3 separate regions of the Homo sapiens genome follow, and regions 2 and 3 are each linked to region 1. Evidence: promoter capture Hi-C in 16 types of primary human blood cells and fetal thymus (Javierre and others, 2016). All regions are on one chromosome and are shown on one strand. The core of a region is centred on a gene start or on the middle of the fragment in contact, and the rest is flanking DNA. Distances in the headings are between cores, read along the strand shown.

Region 1 (3,668 bases), core at 434-2,933:
CTTCAATTCCCTTCAGTCTGATTTTGAGGTTTTCACCTGGGGCTACAAAATCAGTTTCAGTATCATCAGAAAGTATTCCAAGAACTTCTACATTGTGCTTGTTTGGCATCATCACGAGCTGCTGGCCTTTAAAAATGGACCCGGATTCCAGCTTTCCCAGGACCACAGTGCCCATATCTTTGTACTTATCCACAATTGGCAGTCTTATTGGTCCATCAATTGATCTGTTGAAGTTTGGCAAGTTATCCAAATACGGAATAAATGGTAATCCAGTGTACCAAGGGCAGAAATCTGACTGCTCTTTAATATTTGCTCCGGTCAGTCCTGAGCAGGGCATAAAGTGAATGTCCTTTTTTGGACTGAAGCCTACTTTTTTCAAAAAGGGCACCAGTTTTTCTTTACATTCTTCATATCTCTCGATGCTCCAATTTACTGTGGGATCATCCATCTTATTAATAAGCACTATTAAATGTTTTACCCCTGCCGTTTTTGCCAACATCGCATGTTCTCTTGTCTGTCCACCTTTTTCAAATCCAGTTTCAAACTCTCCTTTCCTGGCAGAGATGACCAGCACAGCCAAATCAGCTTGAGAAGCACCACCAATCATATTTGGGACAAAACTCTTGTGGCCAGGGGCATCTAAAATTGTGAAATGTTTCCTTTCTGTTTCAAAATAGGCACGACCCACTTCGACTGTTTTACCCTTGTCTCGTTCCTCCTGATTTGTATCTAAGGCCCAGGACAAATACCAGGTTTCTCTGTTTTTTTCCTTAGCTTCTCTTTCATATTTCTCCAGTGTTCTTTTGTCAACCATTCCAGTCAAAAACATTATCTGTCCTCCGATGGTTGACTTGCCAGCGTCTACATGGCCAATGAATACTACATTTACGTGTTCTTTCTTAGGTGCACCTGAGGGTACGATCACAGATTTGGATTTTCTTATTTCCTCTTTTTCCTCCATCATTTCCTGGCCACTTTCTTCTGGGGGCCCTGAATCTCCCGAGGAACCACCCCCAGGCTCGGCTTCACTTACTTCTTTACTGTGCTCCCATGATTCTTCTAGGGCCATTTCCACCTCTCCATTTTCTACAACAGGTTCTGAAAGTTCCATGGTAACGGCTGAATTGGAACCTTCAAGCGACACTAACGGTTCCTCTCGGGAAGGTTCCACAGGTGCCCCCCGTCCCATCCTTTTACCTTGAGGGTATCCCGCGCCGGTGCAGGTTTCATCGTTGCTGCCGGAGCCGGCCGGGAGGGTGGGCGGCTGAGTCGGGCCCCGCAGGAAGGACGGCACGAACTCCGCGGCGTGTACGTTAGGCACGAAGGGCTTGGCGTTGACGTTGAGCTTACGGCTGAAAGCCGAGCTGAGGGGCTCGCGCTGGGCCTCGGCCACCGCAGAGGAGACTCCATCCCCGCTCGGGGCCGACCCCGGGGATTCCATGTCCACCTGGTCCCAGCAATCGGGCGCCGAGTCGCTGCTGCTGCTGCCCGAATCCATGGTCTCGGAACTTGCTGTGTGGCAGTGAGGGAGCGGGCTCAACAGGCCAGAAGAGCGGGCTCCGCCGGCGGGGTTAAGGCAGCAAGAGCGAAGGGCCAAGGGGTAGCGACACGAACCTTAGCTGCACCGCGGAGGCAGCTAAGCGCCGATGCTGCATTCGCAACTGCGGCGGCAGCAGCAGATATGGCGGCTCAACACTCTCCTCTTGTGTGTGAGCGGATCTCCTCCCCCAAACCCCAACCACTTCCGACTCCTCCACCCCCGACCCAACGCCGGGCGTGGATTGACCCCTCGCTGCTATCCGTACGCTTGGCTTCCTTACTTCTTCTTAGCCACGGGCTAAGTCCAAAAGTATTATTTTTTAAAACGAAAATTTCCATTCACTTTTTTGTTCACACAGTCTGGCAGAGCAATTTGACCACAATCTGATGATTAAACCTAGACAGGAACACATGGTATACAATTCTACCAAAAGATTCAAGTAAAAGTGATCATTTCTATTGAACAAATGGGAGGCAAGATAAGGGTTAACTATACAGAAATTCAGAAACCCAGCAACTGAAGGGAGAGGCAAGGAATGGGTAGGGAGGGACTCATGAAATATATGAGTCTGTAGCCGAACTTAGGAAATGCAACTTAAGATCACTCATTAATTTGAAATCCACAGGCCTTTTGATTTTCCCTTTCCAGTGGGCCCCCATAAGCCTGTAACTTCTGCTGATGGCTTCTATAGTTTAAGGATAGGGTTACAACTTCTTTTCATGTTAAGCACCCTGGCTGTCTGAGGGGAGAGAATTTCCAAGGAGATCCTTGTTCCAGTGAAGCTTCCAGTCACTTCATATGCAGATGCCTGCACAATGGCTGGCCTGCCATTCAATGGTGGATCACGTAGACAAGCACAGGACTCAGATCACTCTTGTTTTACCAACCAACTGAATTCTGGGTTTATCTGCACTACTCCCCAGCACCTCCCTAGTACATCCTGCATCCACAGGCCTCGGGTTTTCCTGCTTCATTCCGGGGGGCCTGGAATCCTACTCACTGCACTGGCTTTGCTCTAAGAAACAATCAGTGTCATGTTGAACCCCTCTACAGTTTATGGTAATGAGACAGGGCTGTAGGTGTCAGCCTAATTAAACCAATTAAGACTTCTGAGATGAACAAAGACCTTAAGACCCTAATCAAAAGAATCTCACTCTCAGAAAGTGTTAACAGTTGAGTCAAAGCCTCAGCGACCTTGTTTGTAAATTAATTTAGTGCAAACTGACATAGAAAATACAAACTTATTCTCTGAATCTGTTTTTAGTCTTCATGTACTCAAATCTGTCACCTTTTGCTTTTATGAATTCAGGTTTTGTGACATACCTAGAAAGACTATTCAGTCCAAACAATCTGCTTAGTACAAGATGGTGTCACATAGATGGATTTATTTTTTTATTTTGAGACAAAGTTTCACTTTTGTTGCCCAGGCTGGAGTGCAGTGGCATGATCTCAGCTCACTGCAACTTCTGCCTCCTGGGTTCAAGCAATTCTCCTGCCTCAGCTTCCTGAGTAGCTGGGATTACAGGCGTCCGCCACCAAGCTCAGCTAATTTTTCTTAATATATATTTTTAGTAGAGACAGGGTTTCACCATGTTGGCCAGACTGGTCTTGAACTCCTGACCTCAGGTGATCCACCTGCCTCGGCCTCCCAAAGTGCTGGGATTACAGGCATGAGCCACCACGCCTGGCCTCATAGTTGGATATTTAAATCCAACAACAAAGCAAAATATTATAAAACCAAGTACCTGATTATAACTTGAGAATTGTGTTCTCCAGACTTTAGGGGTAGGAAAAAAGACAGACTTGGACCCTTGATGTTTTCACTCTGGGGCTGCCACTATTATACTAGCTCTGTACTGTTTCCACACCTTCATTCTTTTTGCCTCCGGTTATGGATTAATTATTTACAGTGACATAAAGAGAATGTGCACACCTATTCACAATAAACAGGAAGAACTGAGAGGTAGAATGTGCAGAGAGACCCTCCACACAAGTGCTGGAGCCTTCTTGGACATTGTGTGAACCTAGAATGGACATTTCTGGGAGAACCTGTCAAGGTTTTGGCAGCCGTGTTCACATAAGGTAATTCATGCAAGGAAGCAGGAGACATCTGGGATTTTTCCTTCAC
Region 2 (3,668 bases), core at 306-2,805, 190 kb before region 1:
GTGTTTTATAGTTTTCATTGCAGAGATCTTTGACTTCTTTGTTTAATTAATTCTTAAGTATTCCATTTTTATAGCTATTGTAAATGGAATTGATGTCTTGATTCCTTTTTTCAGATTGTTTGCTGTTGGTATATATAAATGCTACTGATTTGTGAGTCCTGATTTTGTATCCTGCCTCTTTACTGAATTCATTTATCAGTTTCAAGTTTTTTTGGTGGGGTTGTTAAGTTTTTCTAAGTATAAGATTATGTCATCTGAAAACAAGGACAATTTGACTTATTTTTTTCCAATATAAATGCTCTTTATTTCTTTTTCTTGCCTAATTGCTCTAGCTAGGATTTCCAATACTATGTTGAACAAAAGTGGTGTACATGGGCATTCTTGTCTTGTTCCAGATCTTAAAGGAAAGACTTTCTATTTTTCTCCATTAAGTATAATGTTAGTGGTGGGTTTGTCATATATGGCCTTCATTTTTTTGAGGAATGTTCTTTTTATGCCTAATTTGTTGAGAGGTTTTTTATCGTGAAGAGATGCTGAACTTTGTCAAATGAGTTTTCCACATCTATTGAGATAATCATATGCTTTTCATCCTTCATTTGTTAATGTTATGTGTCACATTTGTCACATTTATAGATACGTGCATGTTGAACCATTATTGCATCCCTAGAATAAATTTAGCTTGCTCATAGTGAATAACCTGTTTGATATGCTGTTGGATTCAGTGTGCTAATATTTTGTGGAGGATTTTTGCATCAGTACTCATCAGAAATATTGTACTGTAATTTCATTTTTTGGGGTGGGGGGGGGCCTTGTCTGATTTTGATTTTTGTATGGGCCCAGGGTAATGCTAGGCTTATAGGATGAGTTAGGGAGAATTCCCTCATCTTCAATTTTTGGAAATATTTTGAGATAAATTGATATTAGTTTTTCTTTTAAAGTTTGGTAGAATTCAAAAATGAAGCTATTTGGTCCCTGGCCTTTTGTTGTTGGGAGGCTTTCTTATTGATCCAATGTCTTTACTTATTATTGGTCTATTTGGTTTTTCTGTTTCTTCATGCTTCAAACTTGGAACATAGACAAACTAACTTGTCTGCAGACCACCAAAATTTGTAACCAGACATTCCATGTAAAAGCTTCTGTGAATGGAAAATTTTAACTCAAGAATTCCAGCCACTGACATGACCATCAATTCCCCTCCCTCAAGTTACCTGTGACTGTTTTCCTTTATTGGGAGAGAAGGTGCACAAGAGTGAGCACCAGGCAGTCAAAATGAGTTTATGTTAATAAATTGGCTTCTGTTCTATAATTACTTCTGTGAGTCCAATTGCCATGGATCAGCCTCCTTAGGCAGTATCTTTGCTGAGTGTCAACAACATGAAATACTGTGAACCACAGGACTTTCCACAAGGTGGCCAGTAGAAGATATCAGCTGCTTCTCTAAAAGAGATCTTTATGAGGGCCTCTAACTGAAACAAGTGCTACATCAAATACCTCTTGAAAAACTCCTCAGCTCTAGGGCTGAGGAAAAGCAAGGACTGAGAGAAGACGCATAAATGGGGGCCGAGTGCCTCCACATGAGCACCTCACTCATGAATTGCCTGTATCTTCCCTGCCTGTTGTGTAGGCCCAGCAATGAACTTATTTTGTGTGTGCTGGGGAAGGACAGAAGGGCAAGGCAGACTTGGATATCACAGCAGGATCTGTTATGGGGCTTGTCTTCCTCTCATAGCAGCTCTGGGAAGTGGATGTCAGCATCTTCATTTTACAGACAAGAAGCTGAGGCATAGACATACATATTGCATGAACTAGACAAAGCCACAGAGCTAGTAAACAAAATTTAAAATTTGGTCCTGGGCAGCACATTCCCCAACTTCAAACCATGCTATAAGGCTACAGTAACCAAAGCAGTATGGTACTGGTACAAAAACGGAAACATAAACCAATGGAAGAGAATAAAGAACCCAGAAATGAAGCTTCACACCCACAGCCATCTGATCTTCAACAAAGTTGACAAAAATAAGCAAGGAGGAAAGAACTCTCTATTCAATAAATGGTGTTGGGATAACTGGCTAGCCATAAGCAGAAGATTGAAACTGGACCCCGTTCCTTACACCATATACAAAAATCAGCTCAAGATGGATTAAAGATTTAAATACAATACCTTAAACGATAAGAATCCTAGAAGAAAACCTTAAAAACACCATTCTGGACGTTGATCTTGGGAAAGAATTATTGGCTAAAAGTCCTCAATAGAAATTGCAACAAAACCAAAAATTGACAAGTAGGACCTAATTAAACTAAAGAGCTTCTGCACAGCAAAAGAAATTATCAACGGAGTAAACAGCCTACAGAATAGGTGAAAGTATTCTCAAACTATGCATTCAACAAATGTCTAATATCCAGAATCTACAAGGAACTTAAATAATTCAACAAGCAAAAAAAATTTAAGATGGGCAAAGGACATGAACATTTCTCTGTTTTTGTGTGTGTGTGTTTTGTTGTTGTTGTTGTTGTTTATTTGAGACAGGGTCTCACTCTGTCACCCAGGAAGGAGTGCAGTAGCAAAATTATGGCTCAGTGCAGCCTCAATCTCCTAGGCTCAAGTGATCCTCCCACTTCAGCCTCCTGAGCAGCTGGAACTACAGGTGTGCATCACCACACCCGGCTAACTTTTTTGTTTTTTGTAGAGACAGGGTTTCACCATGTTGCCTAGGCTAGCCTTGAACTGCTGGACTCAAGCAATCTGCCCTCCTCAGCCTCCCAAAGTGCTGGGATTACAGGCATGTGTCACCACACCTGGCTGACACTTCTCAAAAGAAGACATACAAGTGGCCAAAGAACATACGAAAAAATGCTCAACATCACTATCATTAGAGAAATGCAAATCAAAATCATAATGAGATACCATTTAACACCACTCAGAATGGCTGTTATTAAAAAGTTAAAAAAACAACAGATGCTGGCAAGGCTGCAGAGAAAAAGGAATGCTTATATGCTATTGGTGGGAATGTAAATTAGTCTAGCCACTGTGGAAAGTAGTCTAGATATTTCTCAAAGGACTTAAAACAGAGCTGGACATTTCTCAAAGAACTTAAAACAGAGCTACAATTTGACCCAGCAATCCCATTACTAGATATATATCCAAAAGAAAATAGATTATTATACCTAAAAGAAACATGCATTCATAAGTTCATTACCATGCTATTTACAACAGCAAAGACATGGAACCAACCCAGGTGCCCATCAGTAGTGTAATAGATAAAGAAAATGTGTACCAAAACAGAGATATAGATCAATGGAACAGAACAGAGCCCTCAGAAAGAACGCCATGTATCTACAAGTATCTGATCTTTGACAAACCTGAGAAAAACAAGCAATGGGGAAAGGATTCCCTATTTAATAAATGGTGCTGGGAAAACTGGCTAGCCATATGTAGAAAGCTGAAACTGGATCCCTTCCTTACATCTTATACAAAAATTAATTCAAGATGGATTAAAGACTTAAACGTTAGACCTAAAACCATAAAAACCCTAGAAGAAAACCTAGGCATTACCATTCAGGACATAGGCACAAGCAAGGACTTCATGTCTAAAACACCAAAAGCAATGGCAACAAAAGCCCAAATTGACAAATGAGATCTAATTAAACTAAAGAGCTTCTGCACAGCA
Region 3 (3,668 bases), core at 406-2,905, 130 kb before region 1:
ACCATATGAAATAATGGGTCCCTCTTGAAGCCTCTACATTGATAATATACACTGAGCCTCCAAACATAAAGCAATATGGTGCCTCAGAATAAACACTTTAGAATTCTTAAATCCCTCATCCATGTTTTCTAGACTTGAGTCAACTTGATTTTATCTTCTTTATTTATATATGTATAAGAATTTTAAAACATTTTAAAAGTATACCTAGTAAAGTGCTACACATTGTGATAAGTGCTGGAGAAATAATGATGGCAAAAATACATGTATTACCTGCTTTCAAGGATTAATGGATCTGAGTCCAGTCAGATTTCCACAATTTTAATAAAGTTGGCTGGATTTCTGGTGCCAATTTGCATCATAAGAGCAGGCAAAGTGACATCTTAGGATTATATCAAATGCGTTCCTATGGCTTCAGTATGTATTTAACAATAATGAATAACATCCAAACTCTGCTTGAACGACCATCCATGATTACTACATTCATAGAGTTCATCACTGCTAATGAATTTTGATGTTAATAAGATCTGAAGCTTGGCTAAAGGCTCTTCAATGCTCTTCACACATTTTCTCACCATCGCAGGCTTTCTTGGTGACTTGTAATCTCTTACAGACTTAAATAGATTACACCTTCCTTCATATTGCACAATTCCCTTCCAGTTAATTCCTCACCCCCATCACCACAGCAACTCACATTCCATTAATAAGCAGAAGGTTATCAGAAGAGACAAGGGGAGGAAGCCTGCAAGTAGAACCTCAATGCACAGTTTGGGGATATTTGTTTGATACTGCATCAGATGACCTTACCATGTGAGCTTCTGGTATCTTGTGACATAGAGTCCCTCTTTGATTTGCACTGGAAAATTTCAAGACATATCTGAATGCTCTCAGACACCTGGGATATGATTTAGTGCCATATGTGTCCTCAATGTTCAGCATCAATATAAACCTCATAAACCACTTAATTTGGGAATCATGGAACATTAACAACAATTAAAATAGATATATAGCTGGACTCAGAAAAGTCATATGAGTTCAGCTACATAGTATGACATTTCCTGATTTCATTTTATAAAAGAAAAATCATCTGAAAAACATTGGGAAAATGGTCCATACCAAGTCTAACATCACACACATACATGCACAGTTGTAATTAATATACTACATCTGAGATTCTTTTTGTATATAATGTTTTATCACAATTATCTTGGCATAACATTTTCTATGACATTAAAAAGTCTTTGCAAAATTCTTTATGATAACGTGTAATATCCCATCATATGAACTTACCTACTTGACCAAATAACAAAAATCTTGTTTCCATTTATTTTTGTTCACTAGATTATCATTGTGGTGATTTTCCCCCAACAAACCTCTGTGCATACCTCCAATTATTTCTTTATGGTATATTATTAGAAATGGAATTACTAGTTCAAACGGGTATGAACTATTTTAAGGCCGTTATTCAATAATACCAAATTGCTTTCTAGAAAGGTTTTTGTCAACACTAGCAATGCAGAAGACTTCTCACATACCCTTAACAGTGCTGAACATTTGCTTTGAAAATATCTTTGCCATTTTGACAGACAAAATGACATTTAATTGATTCAAACTGTATTTATTATTATTATTAATGATGGGAAGATACTCTCAGCGTTTCTTAATCATTTGTATTTTGCTGTGAGAATTCTTTGTACATTAAGGTTATTAACCTTGTATCTGTCACACTTGTTGCAAATGCTTTTTTTGGTTGGTGTCTTGCCTCTTAGTCTTATTTATGAATTCCTGATCTAGGAAAAAATGCAATCTATGACTTTCTTTTCCACTATCATTTTCTCCATTAAAAAAAATGCTGAGGATGTCCTTTGCTATTGAAAAGCCAAACAAATATTCCTTTTACTAGAAAACAATTCAGAAACGTATATTTAGAGCCTAAAAAATATCTATACTTTCTTAGTAATTTACCTTTGAAGACTATGCTTTAAATTGAAAGTGATAAAAAATCCGATTCAGATGTTTTTAATGGCAGAAGCATGCTTCTATTGTAATATTAAATGAGAAAAGATAATATAAATTTAGCAGGTTATTGAATGGAACTTTCACACTTTCCTCAGAATTTTGGTTAAAGCCATATAGCCTTTAAAAAGAAAAGAAAAGAAAAGAAAAGAAAAAGGTACCCAGTGCCTCCACATTCTAAAAAGAACATCCCAGGAGATCTGAACACAATCCTACGGGCCTTACATGGGGAGAGCATACTAGTCATGCTACTGGTATTCATTCCATTCCTTTTCAGCCCATATGTACTCAGAAAGCTAGAAAGAATTAGATAAGAATTTACAGTGTTGTGAGTCCTTGGCTTGGGGAAGAGTGTTTTCCTTTTTCTTGAGGAAGGAGAGGGGCATGCAACTCCCTCACCAAAGCCATGTGAGGAGGGATCCAAAGGAATCACTTACACAGATTGGGGGAGTCTGCATGGGATAAGAACAGAGTGGAGTATCACATTTTGTATATTCAACAGTTTCTCTCCAGGTTGAAATTTCTCATGATTACTCAGGTTTGATTTGTTCCTGAAGGCTTTTTTCCACTGACTGCATTTCTATGGCTTCAGTATGTGTTTAACAATAATGAATGACATTTGAACTCTGGTTGAAAGACCATCCACAAAGTCAACTGAATGTGAAAAGAAAAAAAAAAAAAGAAAGAAAGACCATCCATGATCACTACATTCATAGAGTTTATCTCTGCTAATGAATTATTTGATGTTAATAAGATCTGAAGCTTGGCCAAAGGCTCTTCAATGCTCTTCACACATTTTCTCACCATCATGGCCTTTTCGTGCTGATTTATAGTCTCTGAAATTGGTCTGAAGCTATGGTCATGTGACCCACACTATGGGTGTGGGTGTGGGTTTGTCCTATGTATGGTTTCATCCTCCCGTAGGATGTCTGAGATTAGAGCACAATTACTCTAACACTTACTATAGTCTTGGAAGCCCCCTGGCTGGGAACCAATCCTGTGAATATCTACCCCAAGCCTTAAACATCTATCCTTTGAAAGAAGGTTAATCTCCTTTTCTAACTTGTCTTTATGCTCAGAAGTTCCTTGTGGTTAGAGTCATGAGGAGTTATCCTTGTAATATATGGCCACATTCCCCTGTGACCCAAATTGTTCCTCAAATCCCTGATTTTGAATACATTTCTTATTCTCAGGCTTTTCTCATTTGATAAAAAAATTATAACTGTCACTCATTTGTGATACTTGGCAGTAGTGAGAAGGTCAAACAACTGTAAAAGAAAAGAAAATAATTATCTAACAGGTCTCCACCATATAACTTCCTAAGAGGCAAGCTGGAGACAGGATTTTGCCCTCCAACCTGACAAAAAACACTTAAAAATGGACATAAAATATGAAATAATGGTTTTTGAAGACACTGAACATTAGGCAATGAAGAAGAGTAATCCCTGAGAGATGAGGAAAAAAGAAGTGAGCACTTACTGCTTGAGAGGTTCCAGTTTGTGGAGCAACAAGGGAGAATGTAGTCAGAATCCAGGGGATTCCTTGAATTGGAGTGACAGAGATGAGAGACCAGAAAGACCAAGGTAGCTAGAGTTCACAGAGCAGAGTACCCAAAAAGAGAGAGTTACACAGGGAGAACACTGGAGATCTTTGAA

Evidence for each region. The method cuts DNA at HindIII sites, captures the fragments that hold promoters and counts their contacts. A CHiCAGO score of 5 or more calls a contact.
Region 2: a contact is called between a fragment that was not itself captured here and the fragment with the promoter of GSPT2 in region 1, in 4 of 17 cell types (activated CD4 T cells, non-activated CD4 T cells, total CD4 T cells and 1 more). The highest score is 6.4, in activated CD4 T cells.
Region 3: a contact is called between a fragment that was not itself captured here and the fragment with the promoter of GSPT2 in region 1, in 1 of 17 cell types (fetal thymus). The highest score is 5.2, in fetal thymus.

The regions. Positions count from the first base shown.
Region 1 is chrX:51,741,457-51,745,124 of GRCh38, reverse strand. GSPT2 (G1 to S phase transition 2) reads right to left here and starts at 1,683. Exons shown (of 1, transcript NM_018094.5): 1 at 1-1,683. The coding sequence starts at 1,498. The HindIII fragment of the contact is 6,668 bases long and covers 1-2,324 here.
Region 2 is chrX:51,933,966-51,937,633 of GRCh38, reverse strand. No RefSeq gene overlaps it. Among named protein-coding and RNA genes, the nearest start is that of MAGED1, 42 kb to the right of the region's middle. The HindIII fragment of the contact is 840 bases long and covers 1,136-1,975 here.
Region 3 is chrX:51,875,261-51,878,928 of GRCh38, reverse strand. It overlaps a transcript of MAGED1 not described here. Among named protein-coding and RNA genes, the nearest start is that of MAGED1, 17 kb to the left of the region's middle. The HindIII fragment of the contact is 2,245 bases long and covers 533-2,777 here.